Regions from separate parts of the Homo sapiens genome. Here all the other regions are linked to region 2. Evidence: promoter capture Hi-C in 16 types of primary human blood cells and fetal thymus (Javierre and others, 2016). All regions are on one chromosome and are shown on one strand. The core of a region is centred on a gene start or on the middle of the fragment in contact, and the rest is flanking DNA. Distances in the headings are between cores, read along the strand shown.

Region 1 (3,548 bases), core at 973-3,472, 300 kb after region 2:
CGTAAATAGTCACCTTAATCACTCTAGATCACATTTTGCAGCACATGGTTTTTTGAGAATCTGTTGAAAGCTATGTATCTAATGCATGAAACTCTCCTCATGCACATATACAGGAAAAAAAAAACTTGCTTACAATCTGAGGAGTTTACATAGTATACAAAGTCCATCCCTAAATCCAATTCATGGGAGTACTTGTTCATGGCCAAAGTCATATAATCTATTTAAATTTGCTTTCATCATTTCACCTTTTCTTTTTTACTTTTAACAATTTGTTGTAACTTTTTTTTACCTGATTGAAAGGTTATTTATATCATCATGTCACAGAGTTTACATGTTTTATAATTTTATTATAACAGCAGGATAGATTAATAGACATCCCTGCTGCTATCTTCTAGATCCCTTTAATGGATTTAATTTCCTTTTTAATATCAAATTTCAGAAAAATTTACCGCAAGGTAGGCAGAGAAACTATCCTGGTCAAGATAGCATATTCAATTAACTAGAGTATTGCTATTTTATGTCACATTCGTTAAAAATTTAGGAGAAGGTACTGTGCAGTCTAACATTTGAGGTTTTTAAATACAGAATATGTATACATTAGGAAAACTAAATTCTATACTGTGAAAAGAAATGAAAAGTAAGCAGGAAGTTTCAGAAATAAACTACACTTAACATCTTGATCAACTTTCATGAAAAGTAGCTGATTTTTGTGTCCAACACTAATGTATAGAATATTTTCTGCAGCATGCCGACATGAATGTGATTCAAAACATTTTTTTCTATCTTACTATATGGCTCTAGTTTCCTACCATCCTGGCATATAGGTCTCTTGAATTCCTTTTTTTATTAGTAGAAACAAGAAAGAGTTAAAATTATGTTTAAAAGATATTATAATAATAAACAGTAGAATAATACTTCTACAGGAAAATAATTTGCAGTGACAAAATGGCCTTGTTTGCCATCATCATACTATAGCCATCATTAATTAAAAAGGCAGTAGAAGATAAACATAAATTTGCCATTCTGTGCACCACATTTCTTTACTTACAGCTTATAAAGTGGGATCCTATGGAGAATGGTCCTGTACCGGCCTAAGAATCAAAAAAGGTCTTATTTGAAAAGATTATCTCCTTCTTTGTCCAATGTCTACCATCAAAGTTTTTTTTATTTTCACCTGTTTCATGAAGTATTACCTGATTTCCATTCTTCAAAACACCATAGCATTGTAAGCTTTACTTATACTTCTTACTGAGCTCTGACATATTGAGCTGATTATGTACATATCTTATTTTCTCTAATGGACAATCAACAACGTGAAAGGAAGTAATTTATTATACCGATACATTAACTCCTCCTAAATGTCTTTTATATCCCTGACATTCAGGAGATAACTAATACATGTCTCTTAACTTTAATTGAATAAATGACTTCTTGGTCTAGCTAAGAAAAACATCTGAAACTACATGTGAAAGTGTAGCAATATTTATGTCCCCCATAACAGTAATTAAAAATAACAATGACAATGATAATTTATTTTGCTCATTAATCTCTTAAATGGGAGAGGGCTTATAAGATTGGCTTGTCTTAACTCCATACAATGTCAACTGAGCTGCTCAACTAGAATTGAGGGACCCACTTCCATTTGGCTCATTTACACGGCTGGCAAAATGATGCTGATTTGTAGTGGAGCTGAGTCAGGGCTATAGGTTGTGAGAGTCAGTATCTCTCCATGTGGCCCTTTTCATGGGGTTCTATAAACTTTCTCACAACATCATGACTGGTTTCAAAGACTAAACATTCCAAGAAACAGAAAGAGGAAGCTGCTAGTCTTTTAAGGCATAATACCAGCAGGTTGTCTGCTCCTGACACCCAAAAAGACAATGATGTGATGGGCATAGGAATAGCAATGGACATTCCCTTGTGAAAAAGGAGGAAATTAGACACATCACAGTCATTGGTCCATAGAAATTCTGAAATTCATCTGGACACTGTTGCCAGTCCTATTTTCTGGGAATGAATTCCATGACTCTTAGATCTAACCTGTGATGCCATTTCCCCACTTTCTGATCATCCTTTTTTATCTGCAAGACATAGCTACAATTTGCAGACATGTCATTTCTTAGTCTGATACCTCCATGGAAGAAGTTGAGGGTCCAAAGGTCTATTCATTTCTGTTTGCTCTGTAGCCTTTAGCACATGTTGATAGAATGCCTTTTTAAAACTTGGTGAGTTTCTTATGTTTCAGTTTATAAATTAATTCCATTAGATAAAAGTCACATCCATATTCATTTCTTTATTATGGGTCACTTGTGAGGTAGCAGTATTAATAACTGCTGTATGGCAATTCCCTTAAGATTCTTAAAAAGACTTATTGCTTAACTTTAAGGAGTCAGGCCCTTAGGATATTTATAAATCTTGTTGGGTATAGCCTAAAATATTTCTGAGTTCTAACAAAAAGTATTACAGCTACATTCTTAAGAGGTTTACCCTGAGGCATTGGTTTCCTGATAGCACCTTGGATTTGATTTCTTCCTTGAAGCCATTTTGTACCTTGAGAGTCTTTGTTGAGAGAGACTGTGCATGAGAAACATCTTTATTTGCAAACCCAACAAGTTTTGTTTCTTTCTGTTTCCTCTAAATTCTCAGAAACTTAAGAAACTTTAAAAAATTATGTACTTTTAAATTGACAAATAGTCATTGTTCATATTCCTTAGGTGCATAGTAATATTCTGATATAAATAATGTTATAGGGATCAGATCAAGGTAATTAGCATATCATCATCTCAAACATTTATCATTTCTTCATGTTGGGAATGTTCAACACCCTCCTTCTGGCAATTTGAATCTATACATTACTGTTAACTATAGTCATCCTACAGTAGCAAAGAACACTGTAACTTATTCCTTTATCTAGCTGTAATTTTGTATCCTTTAGCAAATCTCCACCTATCCTTCCCTTTTCTCTACTATTCCCTTCCTCTAGTATCCTGCTGTCTACTCTCTTTTCATATTTTATCATTGGTTGGAATTTTCTATAGTCTTCCTAGAAATTTACCCAGGAAGATAATGAGATTACTAAATAGTCTATTTTCCAGGCTGTAGCATGTGGTCCTGCTGCCAAACTTTAGAGCAATGGATAATAAGTATCCATGTTTTACCTAAGTATGATAACAGTTTCCTCTCTGTCCTTCAAATATTTTTCTCTCTGTGCTTCAAAGCTTTACCAAGAGTTGCCTTATGATCCTTTCACCTTTTAGTAAGAGACTCCTTAAGTCCTTATGGATTATTTATACCACCAATTGCAAAATTAATGCCAAATGTTTTAAATGTTGATTATAACAGCACCCTGCCTTTAGATACCAAATTCTGTTCTCATTATTTACTGCTGCATAATCAACTCTCTACAACTTTAGTTGCTTAAATGAGCTGTAATTATTTTGCACACAAGTCTGCAATTTTGGCAGGGCTCAGTGGGGACAGCTGGAATTTGTTCTTTGTCCCAGCAGGTTGGATGATTCAATTGGGGCTGAAGGATTTACTTTCAAGAT
Region 2 (3,198 bases), core at 261-2,760:
TATTTTCTCTAGGACTCTTGCTGCAACAGGATATGGGAGAAGGGAAACATTAACGTTAGCAGAATGGGAGGAATCAGATTATGGAGACATGATCCTTGCCTTCTGGCACCTCTCCAGCTGATTTAGAAGAGGACACAGAGGGAGACAGACATATGGCCATTTCTATAATTATAAACTCTGCTACATGCTGAGAGGATGGCTTCTCAAAGCCAGTTAGTGTACAAGCAGTGGAGGTTGGGACTGCCCTACTTCTCCTGCCTAGGGTCACACAGTCTGGCAGATCTGGAAAGACTTCCCTGAGAAAGTGACCTTGGAACTGATACCTTAGTGGAAATAACTAGGCATTGGGAGGGGGTGAGGTGAGGAGAAGGTCAAGAGCTTTCATGTAGAGGGAACTTTGTGCAGAGACCTTAGTCAGGAAGAGGTTTTGCATAGTGGAGGAACTGAAAGCTAACAGCCAGGCTACAGTACAGAGCAAATGATGCTGGGGTGTGAGGTGATGTCAAAAGGTAGACACCAGGGCTAGAGGGCGCATAATCTTGCAGGCCGTGCTAATGATTTTGTTTTCTACCCAAGAATGCTACTTCAGGAGATCAGTCAAAAGGTTAGGGTGATGGTGACGGTGGAAATATAGAAAAAGGAATTTATTCAAGAGGTATTCAAAAAGAAGTGAAATAGAGATGAGTTGGAGATAGATTGGATAAAAAGAGTGAGGGAGAGGGAGGTGTCAGGCTGCAGCCCAGGTTCTGAGTTGCCAAAGAGGAGTCTTTTCCTCCAGGTGAGCTAAGGCTTAGAACCACGATTTTTGGTCACTTTTTCTTATTTTCAGTGTGAGAAGTGGCGAGTTGGCTGTCCAGGTACACACTGTCATCTTACACTTACTGTTTAAGACAGAGGCGCATATTTGGAAAGTGAATGAGTCAGGAGCCAGAGGAGAAGGTATGCCGGCAGAGCCTAGGGCGGAGAGGAGGAAGAGAGTCTGGGGGCGCGTCCCCAAAAAGGAGACAGGGAAGACAGAGCAGAGGCCGGGGAGGGGAGAGCAAGGACCATGACAGGAGGAAAGAGAGGCTAGGGAACACTGAGGTGGAGGAATCCTGGGATATGACAGTTGTAAAGAATTGTAGCCAACCTAATCCAGTTCTCTCAATGTGCAACTGAGGAAATTAATTTTCATGCGTTTACTTTATTGTAAATGTGGTACTTGCACTTGAGAAATTTTGGAAAACATAAAGATGTAAAGCAAATTAAGATCACTCATAGTCTTTCCACCTAGAGACATGTACTGCTAAAGCAAGGACTTTGATCCTTTTTTCCCTTTGCATTTTTACCATGGTTGGAATTGTAACACAGACACAACCTTATGTCCTGCTTCCAAAACATAAATAATGGTTGTAAAGCGTCCCACACGTTGACCCAAAGTCTCCTTTGAAACAGGAAATTGAGACACGCCGGTTGTGAAACCTACTGAAGTGAGCGGCGGCGCCAGGATTCCTGGGACCCCGACCTCTTTGCAGCTCGCACAGCTAAGGGCGAGGGCGCCCTTCGGCAGAAGCAGCAAACCGCCGGCAAGCCCAGCGAGGAGGGCTGCCGGGGTCTGGGCTTGGGAATTGGCTGGCACCCAGCGGAAAGGGACGTGAGCTGAGCGGCGGGGGAGAAGAGTGCGCAGGTCAGAGGGCGGCGCGCAGCGGCGCTCCGCGAGGTCCCCACGCCGGGCGATATGGGGTGCCTGCTGTTTCTGCTGCTCTGGGCGCTCCTCCAGGCTTGGGGAAGCGCTGAAGGTGGGTGGAACGAGGGCGCTTGAGTGCACTCGCGGGAGGGCGGAGAGAGGGAGCTGGGTAGGGACGGGGAGGGCAACGCCTGATGGGGACTGGTGAGACCCGGGACGCACTGGCGCGATCTAGGTAGAAAACTCGCTGCTCCCTGGCTCCGGGGAGAGGCAGCGCGGCACAGAGTTCGCTGGCATCAGCCGCCTCCTGAAGCTCATCTCCTCTTGTTTCTTTCTTCCTTCTCTTTATGCTGGCTGCTCTCCCGGCCACTTGCTACACGCCTCCAATCTTCATTCTCTCCCAGTCCCGCAAAGGCTTTTCCCCCTCCGCTGCCTCCAGATCTCGTCCTTCGCCAATAGCAGCTGGACGCGCACCGACGGCTTGGCGTGGCTGGGGGAGCTGCAGACGCACAGCTGGAGCAACGACTCGGACACCGTCCGCTCTCTGAAGCCTTGGTCCCAGGGCACGTTCAGCGACCAGCAGTGGGAGACGCTGCAGCATATATTTCGGGTTTATCGAAGCAGCTTCACCAGGGACGTGAAGGAATTCGCCAAAATGCTACGCTTATCCTGTGAGCTGAGGGATAGGATCCTGGGCCGGTACCCAAGGGGAGAGAATGGCCACAGAAACTCAACTGGGAGACTGTGGCACCACCTGATGAGATTCTCTGCTCTGTCCACCCTCTTCTGATTTCCCTTCTACCTGGAGATGTCCCAGGCTTTGACTCCTCAAAGTGTCCCTCGTTCCTGCCTACTCCAGGTCACTTACTTTCCTTTCCCTGAAGTCTGGGTCCCCATTATAACCTGCACATCAATTTCTTCTCTTTCATCTCTCCCAGTCTTTTAAACCCTTCTTTGATCTTTCTCCATTCCTCTCCACAGATCCCTTGGAGCTCCAGGTGTCCGCTGGCTGTGAGGTGCACCCTGGGAACGCCTCAAATAACTTCTTCCATGTAGCATTTCAAGGAAAAGATATCCTGAGTTTCCAAGGAACTTCTTGGGAGCCAACCCAAGAGGCCCCACTTTGGGTAAACTTGGCCATTCAAGTGCTCAACCAGGACAAGTGGACGAGGGAAACAGTGCAGTGGCTCCTTAATGGCACCTGCCCCCAATTTGTCAGTGGCCTCCTTGAGTCAGGGAAGTCGGAACTGAAGAAGCAAGGTCAGCCTGCCTTCCTTACTCCCTGCATTCCACTTCAGGGCTCCAAACGGGCTTTTCCATTCCAGGGTTCTCATCCCTTTGAGCATTCAAAGAAGAGGAAGGCCCAGGAGGGGCTGGATAAGGGGTGAGGGTATTTATTCATTTCACAGACATCAACTGAGCACCTCTTGGGTTCTATGAATTCAATTAATGAACAACTGGGGGTGAAAGGTGTCAGGCAGTTAGTTAGGATCCCTGCTTGGTAGGGGGATGTTAATTAATGCAATGCTTGA
Region 3 (3,304 bases), core at 237-2,736, 320 kb after region 2:
ATTCTTCTACCATTAAATTGCCTTGAGGCTTTGTAGAAAATTAATTATACATATGTGTTTCTATTTCTGAGTGTTCTGTTTTGTTCCATTAATCTATTTGTTCATCTTTATACTAATACTAAAAGTATAGCTTAATAAACATTTCTTGAAATCAATGTAATGCCTTCTGGATTCTGCCCTCTTAGTCCTCATGGGAAGCCATCCATAAGGAAGAGCTATACTTTAGAACTTGCTGGAAAACCACTCTCTGAAGTACTCTGTGGGTGGGGGGCATCTATGGGAGGATGCTTCTGTTTGCAACCTTCTGGCAAAATACCTTTGATGATGGTACTGCCTGGGAAGTAGCACTACTGGGCGTCCTACTTGTTACTAGACTTCACACACACAGCATGTCCAGGCAGATGAAAGCAGCCAGAAATGGGAAGAGAACTCCGTTTTAACTTCAGTGTCCCTTCACGCCTTCTACAGAAGAGCTTAACATCATGTCTGCTGGTAAAGGAGAAACATTCCAGTAACACAATCAGGACAAGTAAAGGTAGATTTGGAGCTAAAAGGCAATTACATTCTTAATTTTCTTTCTTTTTAAAATTTTGACAGAATTTAGATTTATTCATCCCTATGAGCCCTAGAATTATGTTAATGTCAGGAGATGTTTATAAAATATACTCCACTAAAATTTTTCTGAAAATTCTAACAAGGACATTTGAAACAAGGGTTACATAGGTCAATTACAATTTCACTCAGAAAAAACAATAGCACTCTTGATTTATTCAGTAGTTGTTTTTTAATATAGCATGAGTCACAAATAAGCTAGTTTTTCAACTAGGTCAACACTGACTTTTTTTGTGTGTGATAAGAACATTTAACATGAATCCACCCCCTGATCAAAAGGTATTGGTAACTGTAATCATATATTATGCCATTCTTGCATTGCTATAAAGAAATACCTGAGATTGGGTAATTTATAAAGAAAAGTGGTTTTGTTGGCTCATGATTTGCAGAATTTACAGGAAGCATGGTGCTGGCATCCACTTGGCTTCTGGTGAAGGCTCAGGGAACTTTCAATCATGGTGGAAGGTGAAGCAGGAGCGGGCACATCACATGACCAGAACAGGAGAGAGAGAGTTGGGGGAAGGTGCTGCAAATTTTGAAATGGCAAGATCTTGTGAGAACTTACTCACTATCATAAAAATAGACCAAGTCATGCGAAGTTCACCCCCATGACCGAAACACCTCCCACCTTCAGCACTGGTGATTACAATTCAACGTAAGATTTGTGTGGGGACAAATATCCAAACTATATCAATATTTCTCCGGCTCCTCCCAAATCTATGTCCTTCTCACATTGCAAAATATATTTATGCCTTCCTAAGAGTCCTCCAAAGTTTTAACTTGTTCCAGTGTTAACTCACAAGTCCGAAGTCCAGAGTCTCATCTTTGACAAGGAAAGTCCCTTTCATTCATGAACCTATAAAATCAAAACCAAGTTATTTACTTCCAAGATACAATAGGGATACAGGTATTGGGTAAACGTTGCTATCCTAAAAGAAAGAAATTGGCCAAAAAAATAGGGGCTATAGGCCCCAAGCAAGTCCTAAAGCCAGGAGGGCAGTCATTAAATCTTAAAGCTCCAAAATAATATCCTTTGACTCCATATTCTACATCCAGGTCACACTGCTGCAAGCTCCTCAGAGAGGTGTCAGTCATGGCTCTCAAGGCTTAGGGCAGCTGTATCCCTATGGCTTTGCAGGGTTGAATACCCATGGCTGTTTCCACGGGTTGGTGTTGAGTGTTCTTGGCTTTTCCAGGTGCAGAGGGCAAGCTGACAGTGGATCTTCCTTTCTGGGGTCTGGAGGATGGCGGTCCCCTTCTCACAGCTCCACTAGGCAGTGCCCCAGTGGGAACTCTGGGGCGGGGGGCAAACCCACATTTCCCCTCTGCATTGCCATAGTAGAGGTTCCCTGTGGGGTTCCCCACCCCTGCAGCAGGCCTCTGTCTGGGCACTCAGGCTTTTCCATATGTCCTCTGAAATCTAGGCAGATGGTGCAAATTCTCATTCACTCTGAACTCTGTGTGCCTACAGGCTTAAAATCATGTGCAAATTGCCAAGGCTTACAGTGGCTTGAACTCTCCAAAGTAGCATGTTGAGCAGTACCTGGGCCCCTTTGAGCCCCAGTTGAAGCTGGAGCAGCAGGATGCAGGGAGCAGTGTCATGAAGCTGTGTGTGTGGCAGTAGGGATTCTGGGCCTTTAATGGAAGGGGCTGCCACAGAGGTCTCTGAGATGCCTTCAAGGCTTTTCCCCCATTGTCTTGACTATCAGCACTTGGCTCCTTCATAGGTATGCAAATTTCTTTTTTTTTCTTTTTTTTTTTTTTTTTTTGAGATGGAGTCTTGCTCTGTCACCCAGGCTGGAGTGCAGTGGCATGATCTCGGCTCACTGCAAGCTATGCCTCCCAGGTTCACGCCATTCTCCCGCCTCAGCCAGAGTAGCTGGGACTACAGGCGCCCACCACCGCACCCAGCTAATTTTTTTTTTGTATTTTTAGTAGAGATGGGGTTTCACCATGTTAGCCAGGACAGTCTCGATCTACTGACCTTGTGATCCGTCCACCTCAGCCTCCCAAAGTGCTGGGATTACAGGCGTGAGCCACCACGCCTGACCCACTTAAGTATGCAAATTTCTTTAGTAAAGTGGTTGTTCCACAACCTGCTTGAATTCTTCTCCCCTCAAGAGCTTTTTCTTCCTTTGCCACATTGCCAGGCTGCAGATTTCTCAAACTTTTATTCTCTACTTTCCTTTTAAATATAAGTTTCAGCTTTAAGGTATTCCTTTGTGCCCACATCTGAGTTAGGTTGTTAGAAGCAGCCAGGCCACATCTTGAATGCTTGGCTGCTTAGAAATTTCCTTCATCAGATACCCTAAATTATCATTTCAAAACTTTAACTTCCGCAGATCCCTAGGGCATGAACAGAAGGCAGCCAAGTTCTTTGCTAAGGCATATCAAAAGTGACCTTTACTTCAGTTCCCAGTATGTTCCTCATTTCCATCTGAGGCCTCCTCAGTCTGGACTTCACTGTCTATATCACACGTCAGCATTTGGGTTACAACCATTTTACCAGTCTCTAAGAAGTTCTAAACTAAACCTCAACTTCCGTCTTCTTTTGAGCCCTCAAACTCTTCCATTCTATGCCCATTACCCAGTTCCAAAGCTGCTTCTACACTTTCAGATATCTTTATTGTAATACCCCACTCCTCTGTACCAATTTCTTGTGTTATCCCATTCTTGCCTTGCTATAAAGAAA
Region 4 (3,227 bases), core at 196-2,695, 380 kb after region 2:
AACAAGCCCATATGATGGAAAGGGTATTATTTTTATTATCAAAGAGAAACTAAGAGCAGAGATGTAAAGTTTCTTGCCTATGATCACATAACTTGTTATTAGTAAAGCCAGGATCAAATTGAAATTTGCTCGTTCTAGGGTCTGAATTCTGAACTCCATGTCTCTCATAATTCTATGAAAGGAGAGGAGAATGTAATGTAAATTGAGCTATGTTCAGAGCTGTTTCTAAGGCTATTTAGAAATTTTATGAAAACAAAACAACTTAAACTGTTTTAAGTATCAGATCTTTTATTGTTATTTTGTTTTTAATACTGGAAAATCTAAAATGATTGTTGATAAAGTAGCTTGCATTGATGGACACATGTCTTTTTCTCCCTCAAAATCTGTCTCGGAATAGGCAAATGTGCACTGACCAACAATCCGTGTTTACTGGAATTTGTTCCAATATGCATATTTATTGTTATTGCATATTTATTTTGTTTCACATATCCCACATCTAAATAATCATTGAATTTGGTTCAATATGCAGAAATTTGTGTAAATGAGCCTAGATTCAAGATAAGAAAAATTTCTCTGAACAATTCAAGTAACTTTCCAAAAATCAAAGGAACTTGCTAGAATACCTATGATTCAGGCTATGAACCTGAGACATCCCAATTGCCATAGAGATATCTGCATCCTATCTATGGCTCTTCAATCTTCTTTCTTATGAAGGCATTTTCTGTTCTTACAATCCTTTGACTAGGAACACAATTTAAAATATTTCACTATCGGTATAGCCCTGGCACTAATTACTTAAAACAGGTGCTGGCCATAGCGAAGGAGAAGATCTGTATATAAGCTTTCTAGAACATTTTACCTACTACCTGGTCAATATTTGTTAGGTCAACCAGCTTTACATGCCCCTGAGATTCAAAGAAGGGAGATGGAGAGGATAGTTAGCCATATTGAGTCAAGAATATATGGCTGAATATCAGCACTGCATCTCTCTCTGCTTTGACTTTCAGTGAATATGAGTTTTGTAGATAAGATGATATGAAATTAGGTCTTGGGGTATAACCTACTTGTGTAGTTTCTTATGAAAGTGGGATTTGAGAATCTGGATCTTTGAAATTGTTACACTGAAGTCTACCAAATTTTTTTCTTGGCATGTCCACCAGTAAGTTCCCTTGTTTTCTCATATTATATTTTCTCACTTACGAAATAATGGGCTTGGTCTAGACTAGGGAATCCCAAACTGTCTATGAAATAGGAATTCCCAGGAAGTTTTGAATATTATTCACGGCAGGGTTACATTCCACACATACTCAGTAAGACTCTCCACATATTTTTTTGGGGGAATCTGTATTTTAACAAATTCCCAGGTGATTCTTCTGTAGCTAGTCCAACCTTAGTTTGAAAACCCCTGTAAAAAATAAATGATTCATAAAGTTTCATTTGTATCAGAAGGTCCCAGACAATATTTAGAGAAAATGTTGGCAAATTATATTTATGTTCCCTTAAAGCCTATTCTGATTCCTTGAGGAGGCCCTATTAAGATTCTGCTATTTTCACCTCTCCCAAGACCTGTTGTATATCAGTCCTGAACATCCCTAGGATAGTGACATCTGCCCATCACTGTCTTCCTGAAGGCCTCCTTCACCTCCTTGTTCCTCAGGCAGTAGATGGCTGGGTTGAAGAATGGTACAATGATAGTGTAGAGCACAGAGATAATCTTGTTGTGGTTGAAGGTGTACATGGCCCGGGGCCGTGCATAGGTGAAGAGAGTGGAGGAGTAGTAGATAACAACCACTGCCAGATGAGCGGCACAAGTGGAAAAGGCTTTGTGGCGTCCCCTGGACGTAGGGATCCTCAGGATGGCTGCAATGATGGCAGTGTATGATGAAACCACAGCCAATAGAGGGAGTAGAATCATCACCAGGGCCAGAAGGAAGTCTACTAGCTCTGCTTGCTCCTTGTCAGAGCAGGTGAGGTTGAGTAGTGGGGAAATATCACAGAAAAAGTGGTTGATAATGTTGGGTCCACAGTAGGACAATTGGGAAATAAAAAGAAGCTTCATCATGGAGCTGAAGAAGCCACTGCCCCAAGAGGCAGCAGCAAGGCGAGTGGCCAGACTGGAAGGCATGAGACTAGGGTAAAGGAGGGGTCCACAGATGGCCAGGTAGCGATCATAGGCCATAACTGCCAACAGCACACATTCAGTACAGGCTAAGGCAATAAAGAAGTACAGTTGGGTCATGCAACCTACGTAGGAGACTCTACCATCCTGGGTAAGAAAGGCTGCCAAGAGCCGAGGAATGGTGACATTGATGTACCATAGCTCCAGGAAAGAGAGATGGCCAAGGAAAAAGTACATGGGACGATGAAGGCTTGGAGCAAGCCATATTGTGAAGACAATAAGTGCATTCTCCAACAATGTCAGAAGGTAAATTGCAAAAAAAAGGACAAAGAGGAGCAGCTGGAGGGGAGGCGTGGTAGGGAAACCCACCAAGACAAACTCCTCGACATGGCCTCCACTCAAATTTCTCATGGCTCTCTGTCCACTTGAGTGCCTAAAATAAATCACAGGAAGAACAAGAGGTTTGAAAGATAGCTGCAACAAACCACCAACATACTCTCACAGGTTATAACCACTGAAGAGCTTAGTGGCATATTAATTATTATAACATTTTTCCTCTTCACTTTGCTGTTTTTTCTCTCACCTTATAGGAAAAGTTAACAGACCTGAGTACTCAATTACCTAGCAATCTTAACTACAGTGGGTATTTGATAAATACTTTCTGAGTGATTTCAGAACTGCTTGGCATTTTGATTCTTGTTTTCTTGTCCAGGACATGCTCTTCCTTTACATCCCTTAGAAACAACAATAAACTCCTAAGCCCACAGCACCTTTACTCAGTATCTGTTGAATGAGGGAATAAAAGAAAGTGTGACAGCAAGCTAGAGCCTACAAGCTTATTTCTCAAGGGAAATTGTACTAAGGGGAAGTAATAACTCAAGGAGATTGCTTGAACTATAATGCAAGGCAACACGGCAGTATGAAGATTGCTCTGAAAAATATTCATTTCCAAATAGAGAGACAATTCAATACAAAGGAGATAATGAAGTTCTGCTCCAGAGAATAGTTATTTTTCCGTTCACTTTACATATATTTTTGAATACATTTGTAGTGCTAGAATTAGGCAGTCTTATTTCCAGGAGGTATAACAGATTAAAAAATTGAACTT
Region 5 (3,087 bases), core at 331-2,830, 340 kb after region 2:
TGAGAAAAAATATGTTAAAGTATTTTAAATAGAAATTTATATGCTTCTTATATTTAAAAATATAATAACACCAAGATAATACTGGATAATACTGAGACATAACTGATGGAATAATACAAGCTCTATATGTGTATATACATGTATGTATATTTATGTGTTTATATATAGAAAGAGAGAGAAAAAGAGAGAGAGGCAGCAGAGGACACCAAAATATATCAAGTAGTCTTACTGAATTAAGGATTAGATTAGATAAAGATTATAGAGAAGACTAGATTACATAGAGTATTAAGGAGACTAGATTAGATAAAGATTAGAGTATAGAGAAGACAAAGGGGCCATTTCAAGACAGATAACTAAAGAGAAGGGATTAGCACACACATAGGGAGGTCTAATAGCTGCAAAGGGATCTCCTCAAATCTTTGGAAGAGTGCTAATTCGTACATTTGTTAGAGTAAACTTCTTGTAGAAGATGAACAACTACTGGAAGCAATAGACTAAACAAGTCCTAGAGTTCACACAAAGAAGAGTTTATATTCCCAACAGCCATCAAGTATAATTAATAGAAATAAAAAATATTATCTGAATTTTAAAAATACATTAAGCAGGATTAGCTGCAGACACTGCCAAAGAAAAGGTCAATTAACTTAAACACATAGCCAACAAAACAACCTGTAATTATAGCAAAACTTCAAAAACCCCAAATAACGACAACAACAACAAAACAAAAACAGAGGCTTGATGACTACGGTAAAGTGCCAAGCTGTCAAATATTCATGTAATTGAGATCCCTTATAAACCCCCAAACCCAAAAATGTCAGAAATTTCAAGCAGAATAAAAACCAAAATTATGCTAGAACATATAAGAATATAAGAATTCAATTATTAAAAACTAATGATAAAAAGAAAATTTTAAAAATAGTGAGAGACAAAAGGAGAGAAAGATGGTGAAACAGAAAGCCCACTGCTTACATTCCTTGACAGCAGCAATAAGTTCACAGCCATCAATGGGAAAATACCTCTTTGTGGGAGCCTTGAGATTTAGATAGGAGATTGTGAAACCCTAGTGAAGATCAAGATGTAGGAAAGCCATTTTGAGGGGGCAGACCTGCCAACAGTGGTCTCAGCTCTAGACTTAGCAATGGCCTTGTTTTATTGTGGACTTGGATACAGCCTTATTTTGCCATCAGTCAAGGAGCCCAGGAGGAGTCACATATACTAGTGCTTCAGAAAACAAGCTTGTTGACCTCGGTCCCAGGTGTGGAACTTGAAATGGCTCTGAAACTCAACTCCAGGCATTAATAGCTGTGGTCTGAGAGTAGGCTTGTCCATTCAAGAACCAAGAGAAGGACGAGCTTGTCTATGACCCTCAGAGGCAGACCTGCTGCCATCAGTCTCACAGAGGATCCTGACACAGCCTTGTAACTTGGATTCATCCCCTCTCAGGTGTGGTCTGAGGGCAGTTTTGCCTGACCAGGGACCAAATGGGGGATACACCAAACCTTGACCTCAGAGGCAGGCCTGCAGATCTTTGTCTTTACTGCAGCCCTGTGACTTATATTCATCTCCTCTCAACTGTAGGCCAGGACAAGTACTGCCTGCAAAGGGACCTACCCAGTCACTTAATGGGAGCTCTCCCAAAGACCTGGAGGAAACCATACCCATCCACAAACCTAGTAACAGGCCTACCATCTGTGGACTCTGAAATGGATCCTCATTCTAGCACCAACCCTACTGCCCAATGTACTGGAGGTAATTCAGTCCACCCGGGGGGAACCAGACAGAATCCATACCCACTGGAGGCCCTGGTAACAGGTCTATTAAGCACAGATCCCATTGTAGATGAAGAGGCAGCCACATGATCTAGCTCGAAACCCACTTTACTAGGATCCTGGGGGCAATCTCACCAGCATAGAGGCTCAACAGGAGAAAGCTTTTATCTGCCAAAAGCAGTGTTTAAATGCCAGAAAAGATGTTTATTCAGACATCAATGCGCAGACATCAATGCAATCTATACAGATAATGAAGAATTAGGCAAATGTGACACCACCAAAAGAAACTAGTAAAGCTTCAGTAGTAAATCACAAAGAAATAGAGATCTAGGAATTGCCTGAGAAAGAATTCAAAATAACCATCTTAAGGATCTTGAAGAAATGCAAGGAAATGCACATAGAAAATGAATTGAAATTAGAAAAACAATAATAAACTACCGGTGTCTCAGAAGGAAAAAGAAGCAAATAAAGAGGCATAAAGCTTATTTAAAGAAATACTGGCTGAAAACTTCCAAAATCATGGGAGAGACATAGACTCAATACAGTTTCATGGAAATCAAAATGTCCAAACAATATCAACCCCAACAGTAACACTCTGAAGCACATTATAATCAACTTATTATAAGTCAAACACAAAAAGAGACTTTTGAAAGCAGCAGTAAAAAGAAACTTGTCACCTAAAAGGGAACCCCTTTAAGGATATCAGCAGACTTGGCAAAAACAAAACAAAACCTAAAAAAAAAAATTTTATATGCCCGGATGGTGTGGGATGATATAGCCAAAGAGCAGAAAGAAAAAAATAAAAACTGCCCAAGAATACTATACGTAAAAAATCTCTCTCAGAAATGAAGCAGAAATAAAGACATACTCAGACAAAGGTAACACAGGAATGGAAAACCAAACATTGCATGTTCTCACTCATAAGTAGGAGTTGAACAATGAGGATACATGGACACAGGGAGGGGAACAACACACACCACGGCCCGTGTGGGGTTGGGGGGCAAGGGGAGGGAGGGAGAGCATTAGGACAAATAGCTAATGCATGCAGGGCTTAAAATTTAGATGACGGGTTGGTAGGTGCAGCAAACCACCATGGCACACATATACTTATGTAACAAACCTACACATTCTGCACTTGTATCCCGGAACTTAAAGTAAAATGTAAAAAAAAAAAAAAAAAAAAAAAAAAATACTAGAGTTCTTCAAGTTGTAACAAAAAGATGTTAAAGCCAGGTGCCGTGGCTCATGCCTGTAATCCCATCACTTAGGGAAGCCAAGGTGGGAGGATCATTTGACCTCAGGAGTGTAAGACCAGCCT

Evidence for each region. Contacts are between HindIII fragments. The CHiCAGO score rates a contact against its expected background, and 5 or more counts as called.
Region 1: a fragment that was not itself captured here is called in contact with the fragment with the promoter of CD1D in region 2 in 6 of 17 cell types (fetal thymus, M1 macrophages, M0 macrophages and 3 more); the score reaches 11.8 in fetal thymus.
Region 3: a contact is called between a fragment that was not itself captured here and the fragment with the promoter of CD1D in region 2, in 5 of 17 cell types (fetal thymus, monocytes, M0 macrophages and 2 more). The highest score is 8.2, in fetal thymus.
Region 4: a contact is called between a fragment that was not itself captured here and the fragment with the promoter of CD1D in region 2, in 1 of 17 cell types (fetal thymus). The highest score is 5.1, in fetal thymus.
Region 5: a contact is called between a fragment that was not itself captured here and the fragment with the promoter of CD1D in region 2, in 1 of 17 cell types (fetal thymus). The highest score is 5.7, in fetal thymus.

Annotation. Positions count from the first base shown.
Region 1 is chr1:158,482,085-158,485,632 of GRCh38, forward strand. All of the region lies in intron 2 of LOC107985213 (a long non-coding RNA gene), which reads right to left. Among named protein-coding and RNA genes, the nearest start is that of OR10R2, 12 kb to the left of the region's middle. The HindIII fragment of the contact is 1,988 bases long and covers 1,229-3,216 here.
Region 2 is chr1:158,179,385-158,182,582 of GRCh38, forward strand. It overlaps CD1D (CD1d molecule), which reads left to right and starts at 1,511. Exons shown (of 6, transcript NM_001371762.2): 1 at 1,511-1,778; 2 at 2,071-2,337; 3 at 2,648-2,926. The coding sequence starts at 1,718. RefSeq lists a silencer at 520-569 and an enhancer at 1,982-2,041. The HindIII fragment of the contact is 7,344 bases long and covers 1-3,198 here.
Region 3 is chr1:158,499,540-158,502,843 of GRCh38, forward strand. No RefSeq gene overlaps it. Among named protein-coding and RNA genes, the nearest start is that of OR10R2, 29 kb to the left of the region's middle. The HindIII fragment of the contact is 6,418 bases long and covers 1-3,304 here.
Region 4 is chr1:158,561,075-158,564,301 of GRCh38, forward strand. It overlaps OR6P1 (olfactory receptor family 6 subfamily P member 1), which reads right to left. Exons shown (of 3, transcript NM_001160325.2): 3 at 1-2,552. The coding sequence starts at 2,530. The coding sequence ends at 1,577. Among named protein-coding and RNA genes, the nearest start is that of OR6P1, 7.9 kb to the right of the region's middle. The HindIII fragment of the contact is 1,212 bases long and covers 840-2,051 here.
Region 5 is chr1:158,519,873-158,522,959 of GRCh38, forward strand. No RefSeq gene overlaps it. Among named protein-coding and RNA genes, the nearest start is that of OR6Y1, 33 kb to the right of the region's middle. The HindIII fragment of the contact is 695 bases long and covers 1,234-1,928 here.